7 separate regions of the Homo sapiens genome follow, and all the other regions are linked to region 4. Evidence: promoter capture Hi-C in 16 types of primary human blood cells and fetal thymus (Javierre and others, 2016). All regions are on one chromosome and are shown on one strand. Each heading gives the region's core, a stretch centred on a gene start or on the middle of the fragment in contact. The rest is flanking DNA. Distances are from core to core; before and after follow the strand shown.

Region 1 (2,700 bases), core at 181-2,680, 270 kb after region 4:
TTGTATCATTTTCCTTGAAACCTTGGCTTTGAGCTAGGAAAGGACAGAGGGTCAGCTGGCACAGCCTTTGTGGAAAAGCGCAGTGTATCTATCAAAGTTAAAAATAAGTGGATGTTGTGGCCTGTAATCCCAGCACTTTGGGAGGCTGAGGCGGGCGGACCACCTGAGGTCAGGAGTTTGAGACCAGCCTGACCAACATGGCGAAAACCCGTCTCTACCAAAAATACAAAAAAATTAGCCAGGCGTCTTGGCGCGCGCCTATAATCCCAGCTACTCGGGAGGCTGAGGCAGGATAATCGCTTGAACCTGGGAGGCAGAGGTTACAGTGAGCCAAGATTGTGCCACTGCGCTCCAGCCTGGGCAACAGAACAGGACTCCATCTCAAAATAATAACAATAATAAATAAGTGCCTGTTGTATTTAAAATAGAAGCACTATATGAGGACTTAGTAAATCAATCAACCAATAACTACCCCTTTGACATAGCAATCCCACTCCCAAGCATCCAAACCAGGGAATAACAAGGATGTTTCTATTAATACCGCCAAGTCACAAACAACCTGAAATCAATCTAAAGGGGATGAGATGGATGGACTGTGATGTAGTCAAAAGAAGACACAGAAGTCATCAGAATGAGAGAAAGATATTGCCTAACCTGCAAAGATTTCCAAGATATATTATTATTATTAATCATTATTATTATTAGAAAAAAGCAAGTTGAGAACGTTCCAGACCAGGATTCCTCAACCTTGGCACTACTGACATTTTGGGCCGGATCATTCTTCGTGTTGGGGGCTGTCCGGGGCAAGGCAGGCTGTTTAGCAACACTCCTTTAGCACTCTACACACCAGATGCCAGGAGCACCTCCCTCCCCAGCCATGATGATCAAAAATGTCTTCAGATGGTGTCAAATGTCTCCTGGGGAGTAAAATTCCCTCCCCATCCCGCTTTCCCACCCCCCACAGTGAGAACTGGTCTAGACAGCATTGTCAGGAATGTTTACATGAACCAAAGTAAACACCTAACTAGAACTTCTATAGGAACTTAGGTAAATGTATGAATGCATAGCAGAAAGTCTGAAGGGAGTCTCCAAACTGGGAGCTGGGGTTGTCTCTGAGGAGGGAATTGGGAATTTGGGTGGGGGGGAAGAGAGGGATCTGGGGAGACCTTTGCTTTTGTTGTATGATCTGCATGTTTGACCATGAGAATGCATGCATCTGTTCAGTACTTTTTTGTTCTTTGTTTGTTTTCTTTGAGAAGGAGTCTCACTCTGTCGCTCAGGCTGGAGTGCAGTGGCGCCATCTCGGTTCACTACAACCTCCACCTCCCGGGTTCAAGGAATTCTCCTGCCTCAGCCTCCCAAGTAGCTGAGACTACAGGTGCCCACCACCACGCCCAGCTAATTTTTGTATTTCTAGTAGAGATGAGGTTTCGCCATGTTGGCCAGGCTGGTCTCAAACTCCCGATCTCAGGTGACCCACCAGCCTCAGCCTCCCAAAGTGCTGGGATTACAGGCCTGTGCCACTGCACCCAGCCATCTGTTCAGTACTTTCATTATAAGAGAGAAAGGAGGAGAGGGAAGGGAAAGGGAGGGAAGGGGAGGGGAAGGGAATCAATGGGAAAGGAGGGTCAAGAAGGAGAAGGAGAGAAGGAAGGAAGGGAGGGAGGAAGAGAGGAAGGAAGGAAGGAAAGAAGGAGGGAAGGAAGGAAGGAAAGAAGGAGGGAAGGAAGGAAGGAGGAGGGAAGGAAGGAAGGAAGGAAAGAAGGAAGGAAGGAAGGAAAGAGGGAAGAAAGGAAGGAAGGAAAGAAAGAAGGGAGGAAGGGAGGGAGGGAGGGAGGGAATGAGTGGCAGAAGCCAAGTCTGCAGTTGGGAAATCATGGGACGTGCTGGCTTTTCCTCTCTGATCCTCAGTGTCCTCAAAGAGAAAGGCACAGCATAAACAGGTCTCTAAAGACCCCTCCTGCCCCGTCCACTGTTGAAGAGAGCCCCAAGGTGACCTGGCCCCCTCCCTCCCGGCTGTCCCTCCCACACAACCCAGTTGTTGCACAAAGAAAAGAAGTGCTTGGGGCTTCTCCTCCCTCTCAGCATCTCTGATTATGCCTCCCTGCAGGAGGAGGGGAGGTTGGGGCCTGGTCAGCAGCCCAGCTCCACACCGAGGACTTGAGGACTCGCTGGAGCTTGATTAAATAATTACACAGAATCTACTGAGTAATCATGCCCGTCTCAAGAAGCAAGGAGCACCTTCAGAGGGAGGTCCCATTAGTGATTTGGGGGCGTGTGAGTGTATTTGTCTACTGCCTATGATAAAATTATCATCAGAAGGCCTCATTTACAAAATGCATCCCTTTCCCCCATCTCCTTCCATCACCTCCCAAACCCAGAGATGTGTATAATGTAATCCCCATTCCACGGCAGAGGACAGGGACTCACGAGCTTTGGGGCTGGCTCAAGGTCCCAGCAGCAGGGGCTGGTGGCAAAGGTGGTCAAATACCAGAAAGTGCACACAGAGTGGGGACAAGGCTCAGGACTGAAACATTTTAGAAGAGGTTTTGTTTGTTTTTTATTGTTTTGTTTTGTTTTCTCGCTAGGATTATTTCTCTCCTTTCAGTTTTTGAAAACAAATCTAAAATCAGCCATGGGAGCCTCCCTAGGTCTTGCTGCCAAGAAAACAGCCGAGCATGGAGGGTGAGGGCTGGGACT
Region 2 (2,700 bases), core at 142-2,641, 350 kb before region 4:
ACTGTGTGACACATCTCCCTGTTGTGAAATCCAAGCTACTGTCATAAAACATTTAGAAACAAAAAGGGAAGAGAGGAGTAAGATGGTCCAAAGAGGAAGCTCTTGCTATGTATTTGCATTTCTATGGAAACAGTCTTGGGCAGACATGGCTTTGGTCCTCTGTGGTCAGAGGAACATGAAGTCAGGTGCCTGGCAGCTGGTCAGAGGCTGCTGCAGCAGCAATTTGCAGGGGACAGAATGGCATAAGAGAACAGACACCCAGAGGCCTCCAAATCTCCTAATAACAGGGACCAGGAACTTGTGGGTTTATCTCTCTAAATGCCCAGCTAGTCCTGTGGCAATCTCCCTCCATGTGCACTTGCAAGTGGGCATCCTTGCCATTTTCTCCCTCCCCCTAAAAGCACTGTGCAAAAAAACATGAGATGTAGACAACAGAGAGAGAAGACAGATGGACTGCTATAAGACCAGTGACTAGACGATAAGGAGAATAACATTTTATGTTTATTATTAACAAATAGAACAGGTACAGTTGCCGCCAGTAATTAAAAGATGGTTATGCATTAGCAGTCTCAATTATTCAACTTAGTAGGGAAAAAAAAAGAAAAAGAAAAAGACCAAAAAAAAAAGACGACTATTTTGGAAACTGATGAAAAAAACAGATAACAAGAGTCAACATACATTCCTCATTAGGAAAACAAAAAGATAAACAACCCTTGTTAAAGTAAAAATAGGAAAAAATGTTGACTATGATAATGCTACCAGAGTTTGACAACAAAATTGTACCTTATTAAAATATAATAAAATCATTCCCAATGAGGCAAAACAGTAGAAAAAGTAGACTGACATCATTATAGTTTATTATTGTTCTACAAGTTCTAGTATCCACAATAAGATAAGGAAAAAAAAGATGTTTAACTTTTAATAAAGCAAAGCTAAAATTGTCCCTCCTTGCAGATGAATTTATCTGTATGGAGAAATCAAAAAGACTTAACTAAAAAAATTAATGGGATTTTAAGAAAAGTAGAAAGATATATGTTTAATATACACATATGTTGAATGCCTGCTGCATGCCTTTGAACCATGGCATATCATTTTAATTCTCATTCACACTGGCAAGATAGGTCTAACCTTCTGATCCTACAGATGACACAATTCAAATCTGGAGAAATTTAGTACCTTACTCAGAGACGGTTTCTAACTGCTAGAACATGAACCCAGTAATGACTTTCTTACAGCTCACATTCTTCATATACTAGCCCAGCGTGATTATTACTATTAATATGTTACTATATGAACAACATTAATAATAGCTTAAAAGGCACTCTTTAATAAGTACGTCTTATATGCATGCATTGCACTATGAATGAATGAATAACCTCTTTCCTCCCAAACAACAGCAAATGTTCCTCAAAGTTTCCACGGCCAAAATATACTTCTTCAATAAATAAAATTTTAAAACCATCAAATTAATTGCTTTCTCTAAATATTATTAATCATATGTAATCTATGAGCAGAGAGGCATATCATTTGGAACAAGAAGTGATACAAAAAATGAAGAAACTAAAATGTATAGGGAGAGTGACATCAGCAAGATGACAGAATAGGACTTTCCAGCACTCATCCCCTAGGAGGAACATCAATTTGGACAATTTATCCTTGCACAAAAATAATTTCATAAGAGCTAAGGAAACCCAGGTGAGAGATTACAGCAACTTGGAGTAGCAAAGAAATAAGAACTGACACATTGAAGAGGCTAGGAAGGACAGCTTCACATTATCTGAGTCACCCCTCCCTTAAGCCTGGGCAGCACAACATGGAGAGATAACCTCCACATGTGGGAGGGAAAGTGAAATAAGCACCTGGCTTTGCTACAAACCCCAGCACCAGGCCAGCTTCAATGAAATTCAGCACTAGGCCAGCCTCCACAGCCCCAGACTCTAGGTCAGCACCCATGGATCATGCCTCCAGGCCTACCCTACTGTCAGACCAGACCCATTGCTCCAGGCTCCAGGCCATTCTCTACAGCCCCATAATGACACCCAAGGACCCACCTTCTAGGACCTCCTCAGTGCCAGAACAACACCTGCAGATCTCAGTTCTAGGCTGGCCCATGAAGCCTCAGACGTCTGGCTGGTTCCAGCAGCCCCAGGCTCTAGGCCAGCTGCCATAACCCCAGGCTCCAGGTCAGCCCCTGTAGCCCCAGACTCCAGGCTGGCCCCAGTGGCCCCAGGCACTAGACCAGCAACTGTAGACCCAGAAACTAGGTTCACTCCTGCAGACTCACTTTCTAGGCCCACCCCAGTACCAAGCCAGCCCTGCAAAGACTCAAGTTCCAGGACTATCTCCACGAACCCAGGTGGCAAGTCTATTCCAACAAAAGGCCATCCCCTGATGACTCAGGCTCAAGGCCCATCTCAGCACCAGGCTGGCTCTTATGGACCCAGGATCCAGGCCCGATCCCCATACACTCAGCTTTAAGCAGGTCCCTGTGGACCCAGGTACCAGACCTGCACACATTCTGACCCAGACACCAGGCCAGCCTGCCCTAGGACTCTAGCAGCAAACCCACCACTGGGACTTACAAAATGGTCAACTCAGAATCTCAGAACTCAACCCAGACTGGAGAGTTTTCCCTGCCAAAGCCAATCTGTAAAAACTGGAATAGGTGCCTACTTCTTTGAACTTGCAATCATAAGACAT
Region 3 (2,700 bases), core at 90-2,589, 310 kb before region 4:
CCCTCTTTTCCCCTTCTTCCTACCTCCCACTGGGTTTTTTTCACCCCTTTCTCCATGTCTTCCTAGCCTCTGATTGTTTTGGAAAAGTAATGTTCTTTTATTAATTCTGAATGGATACTTCAAATATTTAATATGAACAAGTGGCTTAGGAAGGATAAAGTGATTAATATCTCAATGCTTGTTCAAAACAATTTAAGAACTTGGAATCCTCCAGCTCCAAATGTCCCATTCTATTTTACCTGCTATTTGTAGAACTCAATGCAGTCATTGTTATTTTTATTTCATACTATCAATGCTTCTATAGATCTAGTTATAAGTTAACTAACATAGGCTGGGCAAGGTGGCTCATGCCTGTAATCCCAGCACTTTAGGAGGGCGAGGCACGTGGATCACTTGAGCCCAGGAGTTCAAGACCAACTTGGGCAATACGGTGAAACCCTGTCTCTACAAAAAATACAAAACTTAGCTGGGCATGAATGCACACTCCTGTGGTCTTTAAAAATTTTACTTGGGAGGCTGAGGTGAGAGGATCACTTGAGCCCTGGAGGCAGAGGTTGCAGTGAGCCAAGATGGTGTCACTGCACTCCAGCCTGGGTGACAGAGTGAGACCCTGTCTCAATAAAAAATAAATTAACTAAAAATAAATAAAGAAAGAAGTTTCCTAATGTCAATGATTATCAGTGCTTCTTCTGCTCCTCTCTGTCCTTATGAATTCGATTCTTATTTTTCCTGAAATGTAATCTTTAGTATCTCTTCCAGGGAACATCTGTAAGTGGTAAGTTCACTTAGTCTTTGTTTCTATGACAATATCTATAGTTCACCATCATACTGAAATGATACTTCAGCTGGATATAAGATTCTGGGATAATGGCAAATTTTCTCTCATCCCATTGAGGGTATTATAAGACAGTATTTTGGAATTTCTGATTGCTGTTAAGAAGTTTGCTGTCAGTACAATTCTTTCCTTTATAAACAACCTGCTTATCCCAAGTTGTTTTAAATAGCTTTCTTTTATCTTTGAGGTACTCACATATATCTCCAAGTTACCTAATTTTCTTTTGTTTTTTTTTTTTCATATATGTTCTTCATTATGTCAATTGAGGGGATAATTTCAAACCATGTATTTTTATCTTTAAAAATTTTATTTGATTCTATTTCAGTTTAATCTATTCATTCACTCAGTGCCTTGATCTTAATAGTGTATTTATTCCTATACTACCTATGCTTTTAGTTATCTTATACATGCATATTTTGCATTTCTGTCACTCTATTATTTGATTATCTCAATTTGTGCCTCTCTAATATTATTTGTTATATATGCATTTTTATAATTTTTGATACTGTAGCTATCTTTAGATAGATTTTCATCACAGTAATCCTGCCATTTGATTTTAGGGAGGTACTTTCTATTATGCTTCTGTACTGTAGAATAGGGGTATATCATCATTTAAACCAATTTTTATAGATTTTTTTAACTTAGTGGATCTAGACACAAAACTCTGTGAAAAGCACATCTTTATAGACTTTATTTTTCATGAGAAACTTTTCATTTTATCTTTAATCCTTTTGTTTTAGTTTTCTTGTTATTTATTCAGTTTATTCAGTAATATGAGTGTATTCTTTTTATGCAGATACAACTTACAGAGTACGCAAATCTTAAGTGTATGATTCAATGAATTCTTACATATGTATGCACGTAACTACCACACAAATCAAGTCGAACTTTTCAGCACTCCAGAGGGTTCCCCTGTGCTTTCACCCGATTGGTCTATGATTTGGAGTATATCTTTCAGATTTCCAAAGATAGCCAATATGCTGACTTACAGCATCATTCAACGGTTTCATCTGTCTTTAAATTTTCTATAAATAAAATCACACTGTAAACACCTTTTTGGATTTTTTTTTTTTTTTTTTTTTGAGACTGTCTCACTCTGTTGCCCAGGCTCACTGCAACCTCCGCCTCCCAGATTCAAGCAATTCTCCCGCCTCAGCCTCCCGAGTAGCTGGGACTCTAGGCATGCGCCACCATACCCAGCTAATTTTTCTGTATTTTTAGTAGAGACAGGGTTTCACCATGTTGGCCAGGATGGTCTCGATCTCTTGACCTCGTGATCCACCCACCTCAGCCTCCCAAAGTGTTGGGATTACAGGCGTGAGCCACGGTGCCCTGCCTTGCATTTTCTTTTATTCAAAATTATGTCTGAGAGATTAATCCATGTTGTTGCGTTCATTACGGTCTTTGCTACCTGGTATTCCATTGTGTGTATATACCACAATGCATCCAACCCATTCTACTCTTAACTGGACATTTGAGTTATTTCTAGGCTTTGTCTCTTATGAACAAAGCTACTATGAGAATTTTTGTGTATCCTTTTGTGTGGTAGGATGTGAACTTATTCTAATTGTAAAAATTCCTAAAGAGCAAAAGTCCCATTTGACAGCTGTTTTCCCTCCTTCCTTTTCCTAGAGATAAGCACTGTTTCCAATTTAGTGTGTATCTTTCCAAATCACCATTTTTAAAAATTCTAGACATGTATAAGATTTTATTGTATTTTAACATAACAGCCATCATGTGAAATATATCATTGTAAACCTTATTGTCTTTGCCATTTAAAATATGTATTAAAGAACTTTCTATGTTTGTATACAGAGTGCTCATTCATTGTTTTTATTTGCTACATTGTATTCCATTCTATAATT
Region 4 (2,700 bases), core at 68-2,567:
GAGCCCGCCTCCCTGAAGCCGGAGTTGGCGAGTTTCTCGCACTTGACCTTGTAGGCGTCTCTCTCGCGGGCCAGCCGGGACACCTCCTGCTTAAGCTGCTCCACCTGCTGAATGAGCTGCGTCTTCTCATTCTCCAGGTGGTGCTTCTGCTGGACGCGTTTATACCTGCAAGACTGGGCGTAGCCCCGGTTCTTCAGGGTCCGCCGCTTCTGCTTCAGGCGGATCACCTCGTCCTTGGTGAAGCCCCGCAGGTGGCGGTTCAGCTCGCGCACGGACATGGACACGAGCTGGTCGTCGGAGAAGCGGTCCTCCACGCTGCCGTTGCCGCCCGCCGCCGTCGCCGAGGCCGTCGCGTGCGGCCCGGGCCCGGGGTGGCTAGTGGGCAGCTGTTGCGCCGGGCTAGCGGCGCTGGACGGCGGCGGCGACGCTTGGTGATGATGGTGATGGTGCGGGTGAGCGTGCGGGCCCAGCTCGTCGTGGGCCACGCCGGCGCCCGGGTACGCGTGGTGCGGGTGAGGGTGGTGGTGATGGTGGTGGTGGTGAGCGCCGCGAAAGCTGTCGAAGCTTTGCAGCGGCTGTGGCACTGGGTGCGAGCCGATGAGCGCTTCCACCGCGTCCTCGGGCGTCAGGTTGAGCGCCTCGGGGTTCATCTGCTGGTAGTTGCTCGCCATCCAGTACAGATCCTCGAGGTGTGTCTTCTGTTCGGTCGGGCTGAAGCTGGGCGACGAGGGCACGGAGCTACACGGAGTGCTGAGCGGTGTGGAGGACACCGAGCCGGCTGGCTGCAGGCGTGTGCAGGGCCTGCCCGGACGCTCCGCGCGCCCCAGTGGCTCCTTCTTCACGTCGAACTTGAGCAGGTCGAAGTCGTTGACATACTCCATGGCCAGCGGGCTGGTGGGCAGCTCTGGCCCCATGCTCAGCTCCGCGGCCATCGCTGAAGCGAGGCGCAGCCGCCGCTGCCGCCCGGGAAACTTTGCGGCCGGCCGGAGCGCGCCGAGCCAAGCGCGGGGGGGAAGAGCGGAGAAGAGCTGGGGAGGCGGGGAGCGAGGGCGCAGCGGGCCGGGGCCGCCGGCCAAGCCTTTGTCTGGGGACGCGGCGGCGCGCCGGAGAGTCCCGAGGCTGCCTGCACCGCCCCAGAGCTCTGGGCTGTGCCCGCGCAGGGACCGGGCCGGGTAGAGTCGGGCGGGGTGGAGAGGCAAGCGGAGCGCGCGGTGGGGCTGAGGGGAGGCGTGGGGCGAGTGCCCGTTGCTCGCTCTCTAGCTCTCTTGCTCTTACGCTCTCTCGCTCGCAGCCGCTCGCAGCTCGGCGGTGCAGCTGTGCTGGATCCGGCGGCGCCGCAGCCTTTTATCGCCTCCTGATGTCACTGGGGTGCGGGGGCCCGGGCGGCCCGGTGCGCGGGCCAATAGCTGCACGGCCTCCGCGGCCCAGCGGCGCAGGGCGGGGCGCGCCTGACAGCTCCCCCGCCCCCCGCGTCAGCTGACTGGCGGCCCGAGCGGCCCCGGAGCGGCGGAGGCCTGGCGGAGCGCTGGAGCGGAGTGGGACGGCCAGCCTGGGCCCACCCCCGTACCCTGCAGGTCCCGGCCCACGCACGCTCGCCTGGAGTGCGCGCCCCACCTCTAGGCCAAATCACCGCTTTCCCCTCCTCGCGCACTCTCCTCCCTCAGTTCCCTTTGCACCCCACCCCCATCCCGTGTCACCCCCAAGGAGGCTCAGAATGAGCGCCGGGACAACGCCTCCTGGGCCCTTTGTTCCCAAGCGGCCCCCGCCCAGTGGGCGACGCTCTGTGTGTCCTCGCGGCTTCTGGCCGTGTGTGTCGTGCGTTCCTGTTTCTGGAGATCTGCGCGTATTTGTATGTTGGGGAGGGCGGGCTCGAGGCTCCGAGAGTTGTGTTCAGACCCAACTCTTAACCTCAGGGGACCTTTCTCAGGCCAAGCGAGGGCCCCTCCTGGCGGGTGCAGTCGCAGAGCCCTGAGGTTCGACTCCACTGGCCCCGCCGCTCCCCGCGTTCACCCCACCGCACAATGTTCACAGTGAAGGCGACGGGAAAAGCAGCAGCCCAAAGGCTCTGAATTCCTCTTCCCCGCCACACGCACGGAATCCTGAGCCCCCGGAGCCTCGGGGCCGAGGCCGGCCCGGGACGGTGCTCCGAGTAGCTCTCCACTGCTGGGGAGCCGGCCCTGTTTTTGTTTGAACGTTTTGTAACGATTAAGCAGATCCCGGCGTCAGCCCGCCGCGGAGAGGCTCAAACAGGCATAAAGTGCGACCCCAAGTGGCCACTGTGCGCAAAGGCGCCGCGACCGCCCGGCCCACGGCCGGAAGGCTTGGACGGCGCCTCGTACCCAGCCAGGTCTCCCCTACCTGGCCCAACCCAAGCCAGCCCAGAACGCATACTATGTGTGCACCAGAGCCCAGGACAGGTTCCCCTCGAGCGATGTACAGGTCCTCGGGTCCCGTCTTCGTACTCAGCCGCGAGCCTCGAGCCGCGAGCTCCGCTCTGGTCGCCCCGTTGAAATTCCGTGCCCCAGCGTTCGGGGGTGCCCGTCGGCTGCTCCCTGGGCCGGAAGGTCCTGGGCGGAGGAAGGCCGGTAGCCAAAAGTGGAAGCGCCACAGTGAAGCGGCCCAGGGCCACCGGGTGAGAAACCTCCCCGGAGGGCAGACGGGGAGACCGAAGCACACCGCACTAGGCATCCAGACTGGGCT
Region 5 (2,700 bases), core at 56-2,555, 330 kb before region 4:
AGTATGTGTTTAGTTAATGCACGAATGAGGCTTAGAGAGGTACAGTGGACGTTCTAAAGTAACAAGGCTTCCAAGTTCTCAAACTTACATGGAAAGTTGAAAAATCCCCCTTACCTGATAATAGTGGTTAACTCAAGATGTGGGACTTGGGGACAGGAGGAGAAGGGAGACTTACTTTTCACTACAGCTTATTATACTACCTGAATTTGTCACCCTGTGCACATATTGCCTATTTAAGAAAAGTTAATGACCCTTGTCTTCAAGTCTGAGGGATAAGACAGGTGTATAGATCAAAATAGAAAAGAAAGTAATCAGTAACCCAATGCCACATCTGAAGGTAGGTACTGTGACAATTCAATATTTTTGGATATGCTCAGTTAATTAAATCTGAATTCCAGTGCCTATCTGCTCAAGCTACCATCCACCCACTCTCTTTCTTTTCCTCTTCAAAGGTTTCAACTCTAAAAATAGTGTACATCTATACTGCCCTGTCCCTTCTTAGCCCCATGAAATTTTGCATGTACTCTGCCCCCAGTAAAATGCTAAGCTGCTCATCCTCATAGGGAAATGATATCAACTCATGGGCAGGGCATGACTTTTGTAGACAAGAGCTAGATTTGAAACCTAGTATCCACATCAGAGTAACCAAGAAAAATTTATTTAAACCTTCTGAGCCTCAGTTTTTCTATCTGTGAAATGGCATCATGATGTGTTATAAGGATTTGTTGGTTTATTTATTTGTTTTTGAACAGAATTCAGTCAAGCAATGTATGTAAAGCATTTGGCATGGTATGTGGCACCCAATACATATTAGTTCAATTTCCCTCTTTATGTATTTTCTTCCCTTTTCCGCAGTAGCCAAAGCTTTTATCTTAGCCCTTAGCTTCTCCAAACTTTCTGCAGTATAGGACAAAATTGATCTCTCTTTCACCCCTCTCACTTTCCTCTCCCACTTTGTTTTTTTCATCCTGTAATTTGTGCAATAGAAATTTTACAAGGAATACAAAAAGTGCAGACATCATTCCAGCATTGTGAAATGAAGATGGCTTAATCAGACAGTTGTGCTCATGTGGGATCCCCTGGGCCATTTATAGGCACCATTTAAGTTCAGAACTCCACACACGCTCAGTATGTTTCAGGTGATATATATGGTTGTTACATGTAAACCTATGTTAGGCAGTTCCTGCCACAAAGATGCTATGTAACACACCAGCCCCAAACTCACTGCCTTCCAACTCCACTTTCATTCTCATGTACACAAATTTATAGGCTGACTGTGTTCATCTGATCTAGAATTGGTTCCCTGGGGTGGCTCTGCTTGAAGCTGCAGGACAAAGGGGTGTGGATCCAGCCTCATCCTGAGACCAGGCTGAAAGGGCAGCAGCCACTGAGGGTATGTTCTTTTCAGGTGATGGCAGAAATGCAGAGGGAAAGCCCAACCACACAAACACAGTGCCCAGTAATGGCCCAATAAAGTCACAAGGCCAATGTCAAGAGGTGAGACGGTACATTCTGCCCACTGTAAGGCCGTAGCAAGGGAGTGGCTAGACACTAATACTAGGGAGAGTGAAGCATTGGGAACAATTATCTAACCTACTACACTATCAATCCACCTGAAGTGATTAGCAAGTAATCCCCCATTCTTCCCCAGCTCCCCTTCCACAAATCCTCACCAGGAATTCACATAAGCCATGAAGACTATGACTAATGTTGGTAGTTGGGTTTCTAAATCAATAGTCAAGAAAAAAAGCTTCATTAAACGTGTCATTAACCCCCTGAAATTGTAAGTATTCATAAGCACGTGGGTACATACCTTTTCTATTGAGAGAGTACAAAACTTTAGATTCTCAATAAGAATTTCAGAACTACTTCTCTCACTAGCCTCATATTCACAGCCAGGAGCGGTTCTTTAGCACAGCAGCAAGACACAGCTATAGTATTAAGTTCTGAACCTGGGATAGTCAATGGCCTGATCCAGTTTGTGCCACAATCATCCTCCCCAAGAACTTCACTCAGAGCATCTCAGCCTAAACATCACCTCGCCACACCAGCCTCCCCTGATCACTTGAGTTGATACAGCTCTTCTCATCCCCAGTTACTTCCCTATCCCATCGCCCATGTTATTTCCTAGGTCTTATTGAATTTATGTGTTAGTTATTATTTTCTGTCCCCTCCCACTAGAATGCAAGCTCCATGTCCTTATCCGTCTTGTCCCCAATCTTAACATAGCGTCTAACACATAGTGGAAGCCCCATACGTATGTTAAATTTATGAAATGAATGAATGGATGAATGAATATGAGCATCATTGGGAGATGCTAGATAAAGCTAACAACCTAGCATGGAATTCATGGGTCTCTAGAGAATACGCTCCCCAAGGTGTTTGTGGGAAGTTTTGTAAAAGAGTGTGTTAAAATGTACACACATGGTGGATGGGCTGGGAGAGAACTATGGGAGAAAATTAACAATCTGTGCTTTGTTCTTCACTTGAGTTATGCGTGATTAGCTTCCAATGAAAAAGACATTTCTTCACACACACACACGAATTCATGTGTACACACACACACACACACACACACACACAGACACACCCCCCAGAGTCTCTTATATGTGAGTCTATCTCCTAGACTTGTGGTTCTCAGCCAGAGGCAATTTTGTCCCCCAGGAGACATTGGCAAAGTCTGGAAACATTTTAAATTGT
Region 6 (2,700 bases), core at 61-2,560, 260 kb before region 4:
ATCACTGGGCTGAAACTCAAGTGTCAGCAAGGCTGTGCTCTTTTCTAGAAGCTTTATGTGAGAATCCATTTCCTTCTCTTTTCCAGCTTCTAGAGGCCACCCACATGCCTTGACTCATTAACTCCTTCCGTCTTCAAAGCCAGCAACATCACATCTTTCTGAATCCTCTTCCCTCGACATATCTCTTTCTGATCACAGCCAGGAAAGTTTCTCCATTTTTAAGTGTTCATTTGATCATACTGGGCTCATGAAGACATTCTAGGGTAATCTCATTTTAAAGTCAACTGATTAGCAAGTTTAACTGCATCTGTAACTTTAATCTTATTTTGCCAAATAAGGTAACATTTTTACAAGTCCTAGGATTAGGATGTGGGGCCTCTCTACGGAGCATTACTCCAACTACCACAATCACTAACCATTTGCCTCTAAATTGTGGTCCCTGGGCTATTTTTCCTCTGAATTACCAGGGTAAGGTTGATGAGTGTGGAGATTCAAAGGCCACATCCAAGACCTTCCGAATCTAATTTTTTTTTTTTTTTGAGACGGAGTTTTGCTCTTGTCACCTAGGCTAGAGTGCAGTGGTGTGAGCTTGGCTCACCTCCACCTCCTGGGCTTAAGTGATTCTCCTGTCTCAGCCTCTCGAGTAGCTTGGATTACAGGTGACTGCCACCATGGCAGGCTAATATTTGTATTTTTAGTAGAGACGGGGGTGTCATCATGTTGGCCAGGCTGGTCTTTAACTCCTGACCTCAGGTGATCTGCCCATCTTGGCCTCCCAAAGTGCTGGGATTACAGGTGTGAGCCACCACACCTGGCTAAGAATCTGACTCTTTAGGGATGGGTCTGGGCATGGTAGAGGTCAACAAGTTCCCCAGGTATTTTCTATGAACACTCAAGTCTGAGAACCTCTTCAAAACAGTCCTCCAACAAGGCCATTATCTTCCATTGACAAATTAAGAAGTTGCTGCATTTGTGTTTGCTTTGTTTGAAGTTGTTTCTCTAATCAATTGATGAGGTTGCTTGTAATTAGAACAAAAGATTCCAATTTTAGATAGAGTGTCTAATAGTGTATCAAGTAACTAAAGTATGTACTCTGAAGAAGCGGGCACCAATTTTAGTTCAAAAAAATTCCATCTATAATCACTAAAGAATCTCTGTTATTTGTGCTTCTTTATACATCGATCATTTATCAAAACCTTTTTCTGGGGTAAATCCTGTGCTTGCTGTTAAGATACTTAGGTCAATTTGTAGCCTGTTAAGTAAAGGGCTCAAACTTTACTAAATGAACCCACATGGCATTGGTCTGAGTCTTTGAGACTCTAATCTAAAAAGAGTTCTGTTGGTTTCTTTCCTTGATCTAGTGTCAGTCCATTTAGAACATTAAGGGGTACTCCACTCCTAGAAATGAAGTGTCCTGTGTGCCCAGTCCCCCCTGACTGGTTTCCCTGACAGTAACTGAAATACTAGGACATTAGACTAAGGGCACAAGGTGGACACACAATACTGCATCTCCAGCCTGTGGCTCCCCCACACTCTCAAGGCTAAAGTTTACTTCTTGCCCATTCATGACTACTGTGTATGGAAGAGGGATACAAAAAAAAAAGGCACAAAAAATCTAACACATGGACATATGAGGGGGAACAACAGACACTGGGGCCTGTCAGGATGGGGTAGGTCGTGGGGGAAGGAAGAGCATCAGGAACAATAGCTAATGGATGTTGGGCTTAATACCTAGATGATGGGCTGATCTGTGCACCAAACCACCATGGCACCCATTTAGCTAGGTAACTAACCTGAACATCCCGGACATGTACCCCTGAACTTAAAATAAAAGTTGAAGAAAAAAAAACAATCTAACTGTTCTGGCTCTTTACATATATTACTTCATTTAGTCTTCACAATTCTGGAAAGTGAACTTGACTATGTAAATTTACCCATGGAAAAACAGGGGATCAGAGAAGCAATCCCTTGCCCATCAATGGCGCTTAAAAGTGGCCCATCTGGGATTCAGTTAAAAATGTCTCTCCTTCTCTTGGTGGTGGGATGTGCTCTGGAAAGTGCCTGAAGTCTGTCAGTCATTCAAGCTCTACTCTAACTAGGTTTGTGAAAAACAGAAGTAGAGCTTACACCCATTGACCAGAGTATTGGGAAGGGTAAGATGCTTTATTGGGATATCTCTATTGAGGGGATATAATTCTTTACTTCCCTTTTATAACAAAGAACTGGCTTAATCAGAAAACAGTGTGAAATTCTGCATGCTTATGCAACTCTCAGCACTTCGGGATATGCACAGTCAAGGAATTCAATGGTAAAAATATAGGTGGGTGACAGACCATCAATTAATTAATCAATTGAAATAATTTTCAAAATAAAATATGGAGTATCTACCATTTGCCAAGCACTGAGCTCAGAGTCTAGGGTTGAGTGGTTGCCTCAGTCTGATTTGCAATGCTATAAAAGAATACCCAAAAGTAGGTAATTTATAAAGAAAAGAGGTATATTTGGCTCACAATTCTACAGGCTGTACAAAAAGCATGGCACCAGCATCTGCTTCTGGTAGGGGACTCAAGAAGCTTCCAATCATGGTGAAAGGGCAAGGGAGCCAGTTTGTCATAAGGAAAGACAGGAAGGAAGAAGACAGGGGAGGGGTGCCAGGCTCTTTTAAACAACCAGCTCTCTTGTGAACTAATGTTGTAGGAA
Region 7 (2,700 bases), core at 119-2,618, 290 kb before region 4:
TCTAAATAATAACAAAGTAAGGTTTTTATAAAAGTGGATGCTGGAGAGACAGCCACAGTTTCCACTACAACAATGATAATGATGACAGCAAACATTTCCTGAAAGCTTCTATGCATGAGACCCAGCTCACAGCTTAAGATTCCTAGAATGGACATATCTATGCTCACAGCATGCCTCCAAGAAATCCAGCCAGAGAATCATGAGCCTAGCCCTTCTGCAAGCCCCAGCTGAAACAAAAACCCAACCCAGCTCAACTGAGTCTCCTCTCACCCCTTCCCTTATCTCTAAACACACTTATTTTACTGCTGTTTGCTTAAAGCATGGGGCAGACATAATTACTGAATTAGGCAAGATCTGGAAAGAACCCCAAAGCCATTTTTACTCAAACAGAAATCATTTGTTCTAAGGAGCCCACCCATCACCTCCTGACCTTGGAGCTTAATTAATTTTACACAAGAAAAGTGCTGGGTGCCCCTGACCCCTCCTGTTGGAGACATTCCCATTAAGAAGGTTACTGCCTCCCTCAGCAGGGACCCAGCTGAAATTGGCTATAAGGGCTCTGTAAATCTGGCACTTGTCCGGGCAAGAAAACTGAGTTTTCTGAAGCAACTGGAGAGGAAATAAAAAGTAAGTCTCACCTCAGCCAGAGTTGCCTCCTTGGTTCAGAATTGCCATTGTCACTAGAGTTTTCAAAGAAGCCACAGGAAAAGCGTCTGCCTGGGACTCCCTGATCTCCACCTCCTTTCACTGAGCTGACTCCTTGATCCTTCAGTACTCATCTTGGCTGCTCTTCCTTGAGGAAGTCTTCTTGACTCTTCCTTCAACCTTGCAGATTGTGTAGGCTACAACCCTCTGCGTTTGTCACACCCATGGCCCTTTTTCTCTCCACCATGCATCTAACCCAACTGAGCAAAATGGCTTACTTACTTACCTATGACCCCCTCTAGATCATGGGTGCCTTCAGAATAAGTACAGAGTGTATTTAGGGCCGGGCGCGGTAGCTCACGCCTGTAATCCTAGCACTTTGGGAGGCTGAGGCAGGCGGATCACGAGGTCAGGAGATCCAGACCATCCTGGCTAACACGGTGAAACCCCGTCTCTACTAAAAACACAAAAAATTAGCCAGGCGTGGTGGCGGGCGCCTGTAGTCCTAGCTACTCGCGAGGCTGAGGCAGGAGAATGGCGTGAACCCGGGAGGCGGAGCTTGCAATGAGCGGAGATCGCCCCACTGCACTCTAGCCTGGGCAACAGAGCCAGACTCCGTCTCAAAAAAAAAAAAAAAAAAAAAGAATAAGAACATAAGAACATAAGAACAGAGTGTATTCAACTTTCAACTACATCCTTAACCTCTTAGAGGCTCGATAATTACCATGGAAAGAAGGAATAGAAGGGGATAAGTAGGTAGACAGACACCCAGTAGATGAGTGTCTTGTTCATCCTGTTCTCATAGCTCCACAGGCCTCATCATAGAATCTTCATGACGTAAACTTGGAGCTGTCTGCTTTCCTACGCTGCAAACCTTGATGATGATGTGGTATTATTTCTGCCTTCCTTCTCCAGCACAGAATCTGAGGGCTCAAGGGAATGACTGGCAGACGAAGCCTGAAGGGGATGGTGCAATTTCAAAATTCAACTAGGAAAACCAGATGTCCTACTCTTGGAGTTACGGAGTGCAGGTGAGGAACTGCCTATCACCCTTCACTGCTAATGAGCTCTTCTTCCCACCTTTCCCACAAAGTGAGGCTGAAAAAAATCTTTTCAGCCAAATTCAACTGCAGAAACACTGGCTTAAACAAATGTAAAGTGGTTCCTTTAATGGAGAATTTCTTAGAATTTCAGATCATTGTGTGATATGAAACTGCAGGGTATGGACAGAAGGGTAGAAAATTCTTTTATATATATATATATATATATATATATATATATATATATATATATATATATAAAATTAGTAGCCAACTGGATATTTTGTTGTTTATTTAGGAGTCTAACATTGAATTACTGTCATATTGAATAGTGTTTCACAAATTTATTTGTGGCATAAAACAAGTTTCTTAAAGAGATTTGGAGGGGTTCTTTTTTAATTTTTTTTCTTAGAGACAGGATCTCACTCTGTCACCCAGGCTCAAGTATAGTAATGTGATCCTAATTCACTCTAACCTGGAACCAGGCTCAAGAAATCCTCCTGCCTCAGTCTCCTGAATAGTTAGGATCACAGGCATGTGCCACCACTCCTGGCTTTTCTTTTTTTTTTTTTTTTTTAAATAGAGATGGGGTCTCATTTTGTTGCCAAGACTGGTCACAAACTCTTGGCCTCAAGTGATCCTCCCACTTCAGCCTCCCAAAGTGCTGGAATTACAGGCGTGGGTCCCCATACCCGGCCCTGTTTGTTTTTTAATTTAGAATTTGCCGTGGACCAACAGGCAGTCGTATTCTCCACAACTAGTGCACAGCTCATGCTGCATGTCATCCACCTCTTTTTTCTCCCTCAACTCCCTCTCTCTTTCTCCCTGTCTCTCTCTCCCAGAGAAAGAGAACATAACTGGAAAGTGAGCTGGTGCACTAAAGCATCACCACCATCTGTCCATTTCCCACACTAGGAGATACCTCTGTATTACGCAGTCCCATGGCAGAAGCTTCTGGAGGAGGAAACAGATTTCCCTTGCCCCTTCAGTTGAAGAATGAACATCAGGACCAGAG

What was found. The method cuts DNA at HindIII sites, captures the fragments that hold promoters and counts their contacts. A CHiCAGO score of 5 or more calls a contact.
Region 1: a contact is called between a fragment that was not itself captured here and the fragment with the promoter of MAFB in region 4, in 4 of 17 cell types (M1 macrophages, M2 macrophages, M0 macrophages and 1 more). The highest score is 7.3, in M1 macrophages.
Region 2: a contact is called between a fragment that was not itself captured here and the fragment with the promoter of MAFB in region 4, in 3 of 17 cell types (monocytes, M0 macrophages and M1 macrophages). The highest score is 10.6, in monocytes.
Region 3: a fragment that was not itself captured here is called in contact with the fragment with the promoter of MAFB in region 4 in 1 of 17 cell types (monocytes); the score reaches 6.3 in monocytes.
Region 5: a contact is called between a fragment that was not itself captured here and the fragment with the promoter of MAFB in region 4, in 1 of 17 cell types (monocytes). The highest score is 7.4, in monocytes.
Region 6: a contact is called between a fragment that was not itself captured here and the fragment with the promoter of MAFB in region 4, in 1 of 17 cell types (monocytes). The highest score is 5.9, in monocytes.
Region 7: a fragment that was not itself captured here is called in contact with the fragment with the promoter of MAFB in region 4 in 1 of 17 cell types (monocytes); the score reaches 5.3 in monocytes.

The regions. Positions count from the first base shown.
Region 1 is chr20:40,957,854-40,960,553 of GRCh38, forward strand. No RefSeq gene overlaps it. Among named protein-coding and RNA genes, the nearest start is that of TOP1, 70 kb to the right of the region's middle. The HindIII fragment of the contact is 7,671 bases long and covers 1-2,700 here.
Region 2 is chr20:40,340,099-40,342,798 of GRCh38, forward strand. No RefSeq gene overlaps it. Among named protein-coding and RNA genes, the nearest start is that of LINC01370, 340 kb to the left of the region's middle. The HindIII fragment of the contact is 3,607 bases long and covers 1-2,700 here.
Region 3 is chr20:40,377,615-40,380,314 of GRCh38, forward strand. No RefSeq gene overlaps it. Among named protein-coding and RNA genes, the nearest start is that of MAFB, 310 kb to the right of the region's middle. The HindIII fragment of the contact is 2,861 bases long and covers 1-2,700 here.
Region 4 is chr20:40,687,919-40,690,618 of GRCh38, forward strand. MAFB (MAF bZIP transcription factor B) reads right to left here and starts at 1,318. Exons shown (of 1, transcript NM_005461.5): 1 at 1-1,318. The coding sequence starts at 932. RefSeq lists silencers at 1,181-1,250, 1,271-1,580 and enhancers at 1,531-2,508, 2,509-2,700. The HindIII fragment of the contact is 7,144 bases long and covers 563-2,700 here.
Region 5 is chr20:40,356,214-40,358,913 of GRCh38, forward strand. No RefSeq gene overlaps it. Among named protein-coding and RNA genes, the nearest start is that of MAFB, 330 kb to the right of the region's middle. The HindIII fragment of the contact is 886 bases long and covers 863-1,748 here.
Region 6 is chr20:40,427,142-40,429,841 of GRCh38, forward strand. No RefSeq gene overlaps it. Among named protein-coding and RNA genes, the nearest start is that of MAFB, 260 kb to the right of the region's middle. The HindIII fragment of the contact is 2,522 bases long and covers 50-2,571 here.
Region 7 is chr20:40,397,325-40,400,024 of GRCh38, forward strand. No RefSeq gene overlaps it. Among named protein-coding and RNA genes, the nearest start is that of MAFB, 290 kb to the right of the region's middle. The HindIII fragment of the contact is 2,531 bases long and covers 104-2,634 here.